Linked DNA regions of Homo sapiens: all the other regions are linked to region 1. Evidence: promoter capture Hi-C in 16 types of primary human blood cells and fetal thymus (Javierre and others, 2016). All regions are on one chromosome and are shown on one strand. Each heading gives the region's core, a stretch centred on a gene start or on the middle of the fragment in contact. The rest is flanking DNA. Distances are from core to core; before and after follow the strand shown.

Evidence for each region. Contacts are between HindIII fragments. The CHiCAGO score rates a contact against its expected background, and 5 or more counts as called.
Region 2: a contact is called between the fragment with the promoter of HOXD4 here and a fragment that was not itself captured in region 1, in 1 of 17 cell types (total B cells). The highest score is 5.6, in total B cells.
Region 3: the fragment with the promoter of HOXD8 here is called in contact with a fragment that was not itself captured in region 1 in 1 of 17 cell types (total B cells); the score reaches 8.0 in total B cells.

What each region holds. Positions count from the first base shown.
Region 1 is chr2:172,077,398-172,081,235 of GRCh38, forward strand. METAP1D (methionyl aminopeptidase type 1D, mitochondrial) reads left to right here. Exons shown (of 10, transcript NM_199227.3): 7 at 400-497; 8 at 1,818-1,865; 9 at 2,731-2,809; 10 at 2,931-3,838. The coding sequence ends at 3,009. Among named protein-coding and RNA genes, the nearest start is that of DLX1, 6.2 kb to the right of the region's middle. RefSeq lists enhancers at 2,935-3,463, 3,464-3,838. The HindIII fragment of the contact is 545 bases long and covers 1,911-2,455 here.
Region 2 is chr2:176,149,852-176,153,689 of GRCh38, forward strand. It overlaps HOXD4 (homeobox D4), which reads left to right and starts at 1,699. Exons shown (of 2, transcript NM_014621.3): 1 at 1,699-2,215; 2 at 2,757-3,375. The coding sequence starts at 1,783. The coding sequence ends at 3,091. MIR10B (microRNA 10b) reads left to right here and starts at 452; the gene lies at 452-561. It also overlaps a transcript of HOXD3 not described here. RefSeq lists an enhancer at 1,418-2,151. The HindIII fragment of the contact is 3,668 bases long and covers 972-3,838 here.
Region 3 is chr2:176,127,929-176,131,766 of GRCh38, forward strand. HOXD8 (homeobox D8) reads left to right here and starts at 1,777. Exons shown (of 2, transcript NM_019558.4): 1 at 1,777-3,015; 2 at 3,389-3,838. The coding sequence starts at 2,439. The coding sequence ends at 3,684. It overlaps LOC100129455 (a long non-coding RNA gene), which reads right to left and starts at 2,600. Exons shown (of 1, transcript NR_187615.1): 1 at 1-2,600. The HindIII fragment of the contact is 7,912 bases long and covers 1-3,838 here.

The DNA of each region.
Region 1 (3,838 bases), core at 933-3,432:
TCTTTTTGTGAAACCTCAAAAAAGCCAGGCAGGTTTTTATGACCTGCATTATATGCACATATATCCCGGTTATGTATGGCAATCACTATGTGTGTATACACACTCACTTGTTGTCTAAAAGTGGCTTTGTTTGAATGCTGTACAAAGGTAAATGACTCAAACGACTGTGTTGGATAGATATGTACCTTCTCTCTTCATATATCCAAAGACAGTGGTTGCAGGCAACAGCAAAAATTAAAATTATTACAGCATAATGAAAACACATGAATGTTATTATCTGACTCTAAATATTACTGACTTTTTCTTTTTCAGAGAATATTTTAAAGTGACTTTGTTTTATCTTAGTATGCCTGAAAAACTTATCTAATTTAATTAAATATTTTTTGGTCACTTTTAAAGCCACATAACTCATCAGAATGGTTTTCAAGTCTGTCCACATTTTGTGGGACATGGAATAGGATCTTACTTTCATGGACATCCAGAAATTTGGCATCATGGTAAGAAAGTTCATTTGGAGGCTGTTTCTTGATCAGAGATCAAGATGTGGCAGCTTTGACCCTGAAGCTCTTCCTCTGACTTTGAATCTGCATTATCAACCTTGTGTTTGTGTGTGTGTTTATGTGCAGGGGGCAGGGGAGGGGGGTCTGCTTAATTTTAACCGGGACATTACTGTGTTACTGGATTAGAGCCCAGCTGTTTCAATCCCAAAATAAGGTTTATTTTGCTCTCTGTCTTCTCCTGAAGGGTGCATGGCTGGAAGGCACAAGGGATATTTGTGTAGAAAAAGTTACTGAAAACAAAACGCCACTGCATCAGTGTCCCAGCAGCATGCACATATGACTGTTTCTGTTTTTCTTTTTCTACCCCCTTTTCTAGCTGCTGACTGTTGTGGTTAAACTTCATTACATCCTACACAGCGTTGACAGCTGATGTATTTAGCAGCATGTACTCCTTCGTGATTTCTAGATTATGCCCACCCTTGTCTTCCTTCCCCAGAATCTCTTGTTTTTCACTGCCTGGGTGTGCACCCTATAGTGAGAAGACAGGGGTGGGCCCAGAGGGGTGGGAGGATTTGGATTGAGGTAGGAGGCAGCTCAGTGGAGCACCCTCAAGGCAGGTCCACACCTGGACGGGGATCAAAGGAAAGTTGGTCCTGGGGCCTTGACCTGTGCCCCTATGGACTTGATTGGTCCATAGAAGGACTACTCTTTCGGACCCATGCCCTCGAGGATCGCTGGACACCCAGCAGGTCCAAACCCTCTTTGGACCAAAGAGCCCCCACCTAGGCAGCTCAAGAGGTTCAGGTGAGAGTGCAGAAACGGCTTGTCAGCCTTGTGCCCTACCTGGTGCCAATGTCTGGAGTGAAGCTATTTGAAGTCAGGCCCCTGCTCCCCACAACCTGCACCAAAGGAGGCTTCCCTCCTTTGCATCCTTCCCCAGGACTTCTTTGAGTGAGGGGTGTGGGCAAGGCCCAGGACCCAGTAGTAGGCTGGGAGACCTAGTAGCCTGGGGGACAGGGAGAGGGGGCGAGGAAGCCTGACGTGTCTGAAACAACCAGGCTGCCCCTGCCAGGCCTTGGAAAACTCTTCTGGGGGAGTCTTGACCCAGAGCACAGATAATGCAAAGACTCAGGCCCAGTAGCCCCGTGTTTAACTCCTGGTCACTATCCAGGACTCCAGAAATCTCCACCCTTCCTTCTCTAAAAGAAGAGAAATAAAACGACCAAGTTTTTTAAAGGGGCCTGACCCCTGTAATCTGTTTTTTTTTTCTGTCCTCCCCATTTCCTATTCTCACCCCCCATGTTTTTTGTTTTGCAGCAAACGACAGTGATCTACCCATGGAGGAGGGCATGGCATTCACTATAGGTAAATTGAGCTCCTCTTCCGAGTGAGTGCGTAGCTCCTGGTGGAAGCTTTTGCCACTGGCCTAGGCCCGGCAGTCCGGTGAAGGACCAATAAAGCCAATCAGTGTAATGAAATAATTCGGATGCACTGGAAATCTGATTAAATAATATCCTCAAGCCCCATCTTCCTAAATCAGATACTTACCGACACATTTAGGAGAAGGCAGCCATCCAACCTCTAATTCTGTTACCAGCATAATGTGGTGTTGGGTTTTTTGTTTTGTTTTGTTTTTTCATTAACACCCAGTAACTAGACACGATTATGTCCCTTGCTCCCTGTCAGCAAGTGGCATGTGCTCTCTGGTGGCCCGTTCCTGGCTGATCCTGTGATTGGTATCACCACCAAATTCCAGTCACCTAGGGCCGTAAAGACATCCTGTTTCTGACTGTGGGACTTAATGGAGAAGCAATTAGAGTGAAATAAGAAAATTGTTATTTGCTGATGAATGAACATCTCGAGCATGTTTTTAAAATTTAAATATTTTTTTAAAAATTGGTATTTATAAGAGGGACTGGTGTTTGGGTGGTTATTATCCACGGGGTCCTAATTAAAGCTTGATTAAAATGCCCTTCTTTCTCTAAAAAATTACGAACTAGGCAACTTCATACATTTTGAATGGCGCAGTGTTTCCTCTTCCAACTGTTTAGTTTGTAGTATACTATGTAAGCAACATCAATTATCAACCCTTGCAAGATGACAACATGAGCCTGTGGGGGAAGCACTTGAGGGGAGGGAGGAGAAACTTCTCTTTTTTAATAATCAGCCGGAAACAATGTTTAACAAGAATCTGATGAGGTCACTGCAGTAAATATTTTTCCTCTTACAGAGCCAATCATCACGGAGGGATCCCCTGAATTTAAAGTCCTGGAGGATGCATGGACTGTGGTCTCCCTAGACAATCAAAGGTGTTTGCTTTCTGCTCTGTTGCTTTTAAATTGTATGGGAAAGGAAGATTGGTCCGACGGCGCGCTTGTGGCCCGGCCGGAGCTTGCGTGCGCGTTCTGACGGCTGGGTGCTGTGTTACAGGTCGGCGCAGTTCGAGCACACGGTTCTGATCACGTCGAGGGGCGCGCAGATCCTGACCAAACTACCCCATGAGGCCTGAGGAGCCGCCCGAAGGTCGCGGTGACCTGGTGCCTTTTTAAATAAATTGCTGAAATTTGGCTGGAGAACTTTTAGAAGAAACAGGGAAATGACCGGTGGTGCGGTAACCTGCGTGGCTCCTGATAGCGTTTGGAAGAACGCGGGGGAGACTGAAGAGCAACTGGGAACTCGGATCTGAAGCCCTGCTGGGGTCGCGCGGCTTTGGAAAAACAAATCCTGGCCCTGGACTCGGTTTCCCAGCGCGGTCAACGCATCTGGAGGGGACTGGAGGAAACCCCCTTGTTGGAAGAGATTCCAAGAGAAGCACGGTTTTCTCTTTCCCTTGCCCTGACTGTTGGAGTAAAAAACCTCTTAAATCCATTGTATCAGAGGTCCTTACCTCTCTGACAGTTACAGTGATCTTTGTATCTGAACTTTGCACGTCTGCCGAAAAATCCGAACCTGTTGACTGGGATTTTTAAGAATCCGTTTCTCCCTTTTGTGTATTCCATATTGGCCGGCCCCAAGGATGCTCGCAGAAGCCAGCCCCCAACCCCAGCCCTTCCGTATCTTTCCCCTCCATCGCGGCTTTGCGATGAAAGATTAGCCCGCGAACAGAGGCATTGATTACAAACATGTCCTTGGCAGTGGACTCTGGGCCTGGCCATTCTTCAGGTTTCTGTCAATCCAGAAACGCGACTTTCCTGGACCCCTGCGGCTCTTCCTCCCCCGCCCACATCCAGCCCTCCAAGGCCAGTCCAGAGGTGAAGTTTGAGGCCCTCCCCCCACCCACCCCACACGCACGCACGCACGCTAGACCGTTTGCTGCACTAGGAATTCGAGCTTGGGCC
Region 2 (3,838 bases), core at 449-2,948, 4.1 Mb after region 1:
GCGCGACTTCTTGGAGAAGTAGCTTTGGCAGACAACCTGGCTTGGTCGGGCAGTAGGAAAAGGAGTAGACACAGGATATTCCCCTCTCGCTTCTTTTTCTTCTGCCGCTGAGGGCATTTGTTCCTTTCTGGAAAATACCACTTGGTAAGGAGGAGGGTTATTTGGATCCTGGTGGGGGAGGGTGGTTAATAAAGCCGCCATCCTTGGGATGGATTATTTTTCTTTCTTTCTTTCTTTTTTTCTTTCTTAAGAAGAATATTCTGGTTGTTCGCCTGCTTGGTAACCCTGACCCTGGCAGAAGAATGAGGGAACTCATTGCTTCAAATTGTCGCCAAGCCCATTAGGCTACCTGAACTGTCTCAGAAAGTGCGGGTGGCTGCGTCGAACGGTGGTGGCTCAGAGGAAGAGATTGGGGCCGGCAGCGACCTAGGTACCTCACTCTGGGTGGGACCCAGAGGTTGTAACGTTGTCTATATATACCCTGTAGAACCGAATTTGTGTGGTATCCGTATAGTCACAGATTCGATTCTAGGGGAATATATGGTCGATGCAAAAACTTCACGTTTCTTCGGAATAGCCAGAGACCAAAGTGCGACATGGAGACTAGAAGCAGCCGGCGCTGGTCAGCCGCCTCGTTCTGTTTTATTACCTTGGACTCCAGGAGGATCAGCTGCGCCTGGTGACATAGAGCAGCTTTTCCTCTCCAGAAGCTCCTCACCTTTAAACAGAGTATCCTCTGGGTGCTGAAAAGAAAGAAAGACAGAAAGAGAGAAAGAGAGAGAGAGAGAGAAAGAGAGAATGCAAGCCTAATTGGTTGCATGGATGCAGGGCCAAAGGGCTAGGTTTTGGGGTACTAGGGAGTGAGGTACAAGGCCAGCTTGCCCAGTCCCAGCTCTGCCCTCCAGGAACATGAGGTGCAAAGGTACCCAAATGGGGGCTTGCTTGTATTTGGGGCCTGTGGGAAGAAAGCAAGCTTCAAAGAAGCCCAGTGGGGAGCTCTAGGGTGCATTTTGACAAGGTGGAGGTGCCCTTGCCACCATCCCAGCCCACCCCCAGCTACATGGGCAAGGGCAGCGAGGGCCCCCTGCTATTTTGGCAGGGCCCAGCTTTGGCTGGGAACCCCCGGGCCTGGGCACTGGTAGAAAGCATGGCGGTTACTCATTGCCTAATTTGATTCAAGCTGGCCAGATTCTGGTAACTTTTGGGTGACCCTGATGAAGACAAAGCCAGGACGGCGGCCTTTGTATGGCAGAATCCCTGCTCCCGCCGGCTGCAGGCAGGGCGGGCAGGCAGGAACCCTCCTCGCCTGGGGCACTCTGCCCAACTCAGAGGCGAGTTCACCCACCCACCTTTCATTGCTCTGTACCCCAATAGGAGGATTCATTCTCCCTTGAGCTGTGCCTACTTGGTGTCGGGGGGCGGGGGTTGCATTCAGCTGGGGGTGAGTGGAAGGGCCACGGAAGGTTGGCAAAATCAGTGGCAGACAAAAGCTGGGATTACCTGAGGGGAATGGGGTGCTGGGGACTGGAACTACATTAATATCTGGCAGGGGCTCTCAAATGTGCCATAGCAAGCTACTTGATTACACGTATGTTATTTAGTTAAATTTGTGAAAATTATGAGATGCTCACCAACCCGGTGATAAACTTGCTCCCTCGCCATTGGCTGGCCTGGTCACATGGCTGCCCAACTTTATTCAGTTGACAGCAAGTAGGAGGGCCCTATGGAAGGAGAAAAAAAGACAACACGAGAAAAATTAGTATTTTCTACCTTCTGAAATTAATGGTCATGAGTTCGTATATGGTGAACTCCAAGTATGTGGACCCCAAGTTCCCTCCGTGCGAGGAGTATTTGCAGGGCGGCTACCTAGGCGAGCAGGGCGCCGACTACTACGGCGGCGGCGCGCAGGGCGCAGACTTCCAGCCCCCGGGGCTCTACCCACGGCCCGACTTCGGTGAGCAGCCTTTCGGAGGCAGCGGCCCCGGGCCTGGCTCGGCGCTGCCTGCGCGGGGTCACGGACAAGAGCCAGGCGGCCCCGGCGGTCACTACGCCGCTCCAGGAGAGCCTTGCCCAGCTCCCCCGGCGCCTCCGCCGGCGCCCCTGCCTGGCGCCCGGGCCTACAGTCAGTCCGACCCCAAGCAGCCGCCCTCCGGGACGGCACTCAAGCAGCCGGCCGTGGTCTACCCCTGGATGAAGAAGGTGCACGTGAATTCGGGTAAGGCTAGGGTCCAGTAACCTTTCTGTCCACATCCCAGCCCGTTAGCCTGGGTCCTCTGGAAGGGGGTGCGAGTAGGTGGGGGCGTGTGGAGCTTCCATGGGCGCCGCAATTACTCTCCCCATAAATTTTTATAGCTGAGGGAGCAGGTCAGGACCATGTGGCTGGCTGCTCGGCTGTGGGCGCAAAAGGGGGTGGGGATGGGGGGGTGGGGGAGGACTCCATTTTCAGAGCAGGGGGAAGGCTGTGGAGGAGCGGGGGATTTCCAAAATGCTTGAGGGTTCCGGACCTGGTGGTGGGCCCAGAAGAAGGAGCACATTTGGGGATCCCGCAAGCCTGGGGTATGTGGGTGTGTTTGAGGAGGTGGGTGGGAGTGAGCGTGTGCGCCGGGGAGAGGGCGGGAGGGAGGAAGCAAGCGAGCTTGGGAGCGCGCGGGGAGGGCCGCGGGCCTCGGGGCGCGCCAGGAAGTGAGCGGCGGAGGCGAGGGGCCTAACTAGTGGCCGGGCGCTGACCTGCCTGTCCTGTCTGTTTTGTCTCGCAGTGAACCCCAACTACACCGGTGGGGAACCCAAGCGGTCCCGAACGGCCTACACCCGGCAGCAAGTCCTAGAACTGGAAAAAGAATTTCATTTTAACAGGTATCTGACAAGGCGCCGTCGGATTGAAATCGCTCACACCCTGTGTCTGTCGGAGCGCCAGATCAAGATCTGGTTCCAGAACCGGAGGATGAAGTGGAAAAAAGATCATAAGCTGCCCAACACTAAAGGCAGGTCATCGTCCTCATCTTCCTCCTCATCTTGCTCCTCCTCAGTCGCCCCCAGCCAGCATTTACAGCCGATGGCCAAAGACCACCACACGGACCTGACGACCTTATAGAAGTGGGGACCCTGGGCCCATCTCTCCCTGCGCACCAGGCTGAGCCGAAGCTGCGGGGGCAGGCCGGGCCTGCTGTCACCTCGCTGGGCTCTAAGGTACTGTGGGGTGGACCTGGGACAAGCAGGCCGCCCTCGGACTAGGTTAGCATCCTGCCCGAGGGCAGCCCCCTCCCTAGAGCGGGATGGGGATGGGAGGGGGGGCGGGATTCTCTCTCTAAGTATATTATATGGCAGGAGCTACTGAGAACATAAAATCTTGGCGAGTCATTAAACTTATGAAAATCACCGCTCTTGGATTTTGAATTTGCAAATGAAGGTTGGATGCTTTATCCCACTGTGAATTTGGACATTCTCCCCCACTCCACCCCTCCAGGGTGCTTTGTGGCTTAATAATGTGGGGGAGTTGAGGCAGAAGGTTGGCCACCCCTGTGCTAGGTGCTTTCAGTGGAAGCCAGAGAGCTGGGTCAGGATTTCTGGACTTTCTGGGTTGTCTATGGAATTTCATGTGATTAAAAAATATATATTTTGCTCCCAGTGGCCCCACCTCCAAAGAAATGGGTCTAAGAAGGAAGTAAAAATGGGTTATTTTATGTTTAGATATTTGCTTAAATATTTATTTGTTGGGAAATGTGGTACAGAAATAACTGACACCTTCATGCCAAAAATCTTAAAAAGGTGAAAGGGGCTGAACTTCAGGGAGCAGAATCAGAGATATGTGCACTTACTTCTGAACTCCACCCCTCCCCAC
Region 3 (3,838 bases), core at 527-3,026, 4.1 Mb after region 1:
TTCGGATTTAAAGAAAGTCATTATACTTGGCAATAACCAGCAGAAAAAAAACCCCACAAAAACAAACAGCAACAACAACAAAAAAACCCTTGCTCTCCACCACCCCAAGTCTGCACTCCTTACTAATTTAAAAATTAAATAAAGCATGCCTCTGTCATCTCCAGATTCATTAACGATTCCTTTACCTTTCAGTCATTCCCAGTAGAAATAATTGAGTCGGACATTATCACCTTGCTATGTCTGTCCATCTCGATCTCATTTTCTCCATTTGTAAAAATGATATTTCAGTCCACCCGGACACAAGTCAGGATCGCGCTCGCAGGCTGGGCCAACCCACAAGGAGCTAGGGGTAGCTGAAATCGCTCGCCAGCCTGCAGCATCTCTGAGGCCGTCTGGGGTTTTCGGAAATTTGCATTTGGTGTGGAAAGCCGGCGTGGTGCGTTTAGCTTGAGCAGGGGCGCCTTGGAGGTCTATTTCCAAGGCTGTGGGCCTGGCGCCCTCACGACATTGTACCTATCCCGAAGGAAACGGGGCTCAGTCACCCAAAGAGCCCACGAGAAAGGCCGAGCAGGAGAGGGGAAAACACACACACACAACAGAGAACCATTGCATTTATTGGACATTGAAACGGGAGCAGAGAGGGAAAGGAAGTGTGTGGGGAGGCGGTTGGTAGGGTAAAGCCAGACAGCTTTGGAGAGAGCTGCTAAAATCGGGAATATTTTGTCGATTCACACTCGACTGGGCCACATGACTCGGGCAACTTTTCTTCATCTCTGCTCACAAACTAGGCTGAGCCTTCTCTTTCTCTGCTTTGGGAAAAATTCGTAACTTTGAGGCCTGCGCGCTCTCTCGGCAGTAATTTCACAGGCTTGGCGGAGGAAGTAGGATCGTTAGCATAAGATGGGCCGCCTGCAGCTGCCTGGAACCGGCGCGATCTGAACGCCGGCTGGGAGGCTCCTGGGGGGAACTTGCGGTCGTCTGCCCTCCGCACTCCTCCGGGAACCGCAGCCGGCCCTGGTTCGCTGCGCGCCGGGGCTGAGACCCGGGAGCCGCGTCCTGCCCGAGGAAATGTCACCCTCCCCAGCGCGAGCCCTTTTTCCCGCCTCAGAACGTTTCTGTCCGCTCTTCTATTTACTCTCTCAGCAAGCCTAATGCCCCCTCCTGCATTCTTCAGCCTCCCCCTGCGCCCAGGGCTGACGTCTATCAAGGGTGAAATGATGGAAACTATATTCATGGGCATGATTTCCATTAAATATCAATTAACCTGAGAGCCTCGGCCAGGCTTGCGGTGCGTCAAGGGTAAATGTACATCTCATTTCCACAGGGCCCGCTCGGCTGGAAAAGAAAGGCTTTGATTTGCTTTGATAACGCCAGGATCTGGGGCCACACTCGCGGCTTTTAATTAAACCACTTCGATATGCCCCAACTCAAATGCACGGTCCGGTCCGTCAACACCTCTTGTCCACGTTCCCTGGGCTGCACCCGCGTGTCCAGAGCTGCAAAAGCCACGGGCAACCTCTGCTTTTGCAGCCAGGGGCTCGGGGAGGCAGTCATTTGCTCCGCAGCCTCCTGGGAGTGGCCTCCTTGGCTCCCCCAAGTCTAAGGCTCCGCCGCGGCCCCTCCCTGCCGGCTGCGATCCGCATTCCCGCGGCCCCGGGGCACACGGAGCCCTTGGCAGTGCGTCTTTATGGGCCCCCTTTAAGGCCGGCGGAGGCATCTCGGGCCGGGCGCGGCGCTCCGTCCGTCGGCCGTAGCGACTGAACTGCGCGCGGATCCCTCCGCGGGGCTCCTCGTCCCCGTCACGCTGACTTTCCGTGCAGTGCTGTGGTGCGAAAATGCCTCGCCGGTGCGCACCGGGTCGGCAGCCTCGGCGGCGGGGGCGAGATTGGCGGGAGGGGGGCGCGGGGGGGGCGCGGTAAGAGGTGGCGGCGGGCAGAGGGTGTTTTTTTTCTTTTCCCTCCAGAGCCGGGGTTTGTAAACCGAGGCCAGAGTGTCCCCGTGGGCCGAGCGCACTTTTTTCTTGTCCGGGTGCGCTCAGTCACTGGTGCCTGAGAGGAAACAGTGGAGGCAGCGGGGCAGGTCGCCTGGGGCGTCGGCGATTATATTGCGGCCGAGCCGGGGCGCGCCGGGAAAGGCCGGGAGGGCGGCGGCGCGCGGGGGCTGGGCGAGGCCCCGCGACCCGCGAGGGAGGCGGCGCGAAGCCGAGGCGGCGGGCGCAAGAGCCGGGCATGAGCGCCCAGTAGCTGAGCGCCCGCGGCTGCCTGGCCTCAGAAGCGACGCGCGAGCGCGGGCGGGCGGCAGCAGCGACGTAGCCCGGCGGTCCCGGCGGCGAGAGCAGCCGCCCCACAGGCCCCCGCGGCAGTGCGGCCGAGTCGAGGCTCGCTCTCTGGCTGCTTAGCGCCGCCCGCCCGCCCGGGGCCGCCGCCGCTGACGCCCCAATGAGTTCGTACTTCGTGAACCCGCTGTACTCCAAGTACAAGGCGGCGGCTGCGGCGGCGGCGGCGGCGGGCGAGGCCATCAATCCCACTTACTACGACTGTCACTTCGCGCCCGAGGTCGGCGGCCGTCACGCCGCCGCCGCAGCAGCCCTGCAGCTCTATGGCAACAGCGCCGCCGGCTTCCCGCACGCGCCCCCGCAGGCGCACGCGCACCCGCACCCGTCCCCGCCGCCCTCCGGGACTGGGTGCGGCGGTAGGGAAGGCCGGGGCCAGGAGTACTTCCACCCCGGCGGGGGCAGCCCGGCCGCTGCCTACCAGGCCGCCCCCCCTCCTCCTCCGCATCCTCCGCCTCCGCCGCCACCTCCCCCCTGCGGCGGGATTGCCTGTCACGGGGAGCCCGCGAAGTTTTACGGATACGATAACTTACAGAGACAGCCGATTTTTACGACCCAGCAAGAGGCCGAGCTGGTACAATATCCTGACTGTAAATCGTCCAGTGGTAATATTGGCGAGGACCCAGACCACTTAAATCAGAGCTCGTCTCCTTCTCAAATGTTTCCGTGGATGAGACCACAAGGTTGGGATGCATTTTTTTTTTAAGAAGGGAGAGGGGGAGAAATCTGCTTTCATCTCACGTTCTGGCTTTAAAACTCCCGTTCCCTCTCCCCCTCCTTTTCCTTCTTGTGTAGCCACAGTGGCTCTTATTCATAAAGTAATACAGACTTTTTTTAAAAAAGTAGGAACCATGTAAAGATGATGGGGACAGAATAATTGTGAAGACCTCTCTGCTCCTCTTGCCTGCACACCCTATATATATATATCGGAGCTAAAGAGCTCTGTGTATATTTCACCCCGTAGACCCCCGTTCCACAAACCTCCAGCAACATGCAGAGGTACCATAACATTTTTAAAACTTTTATTCCCCCCCCCTTTTTTTTTGTTTTAATCAGCAGCTCCTGGTAGACGAAGAGGAAGACAAACCTACAGTCGCTTCCAAACTCTAGAGTTGGAAAAGGAATTTCTTTTTAACCCCTATCTGACCAGGAAAAGAAGAATCGAGGTTTCCCACGCCCTAGCCCTCACCGAGAGACAGGTAAAAATCTGGTTCCAGAACAGGAGAATGAAATGGAAAAAGGAAAACAACAAGGACAAATTTCCCGTTTCCCGGCAGGAGGTGAAGGACGGGGAAACGAAAAAGGAAGCCCAAGAGCTGGAGGAAGACAGAGCCGAAGGCCTGACAAATTAACTTCTACCTTTAAAATTTACCACAGACTATTAAAACTAATAATCACCATATGCTGTGGACACCACCTATTTTCTTTGTTGGAAAGGACCTTACCTGTGTTTCAAGCTACCTTCATGTCACTGCTCTTGAGGTTTTCTGTGCTTTGAGAGGGATT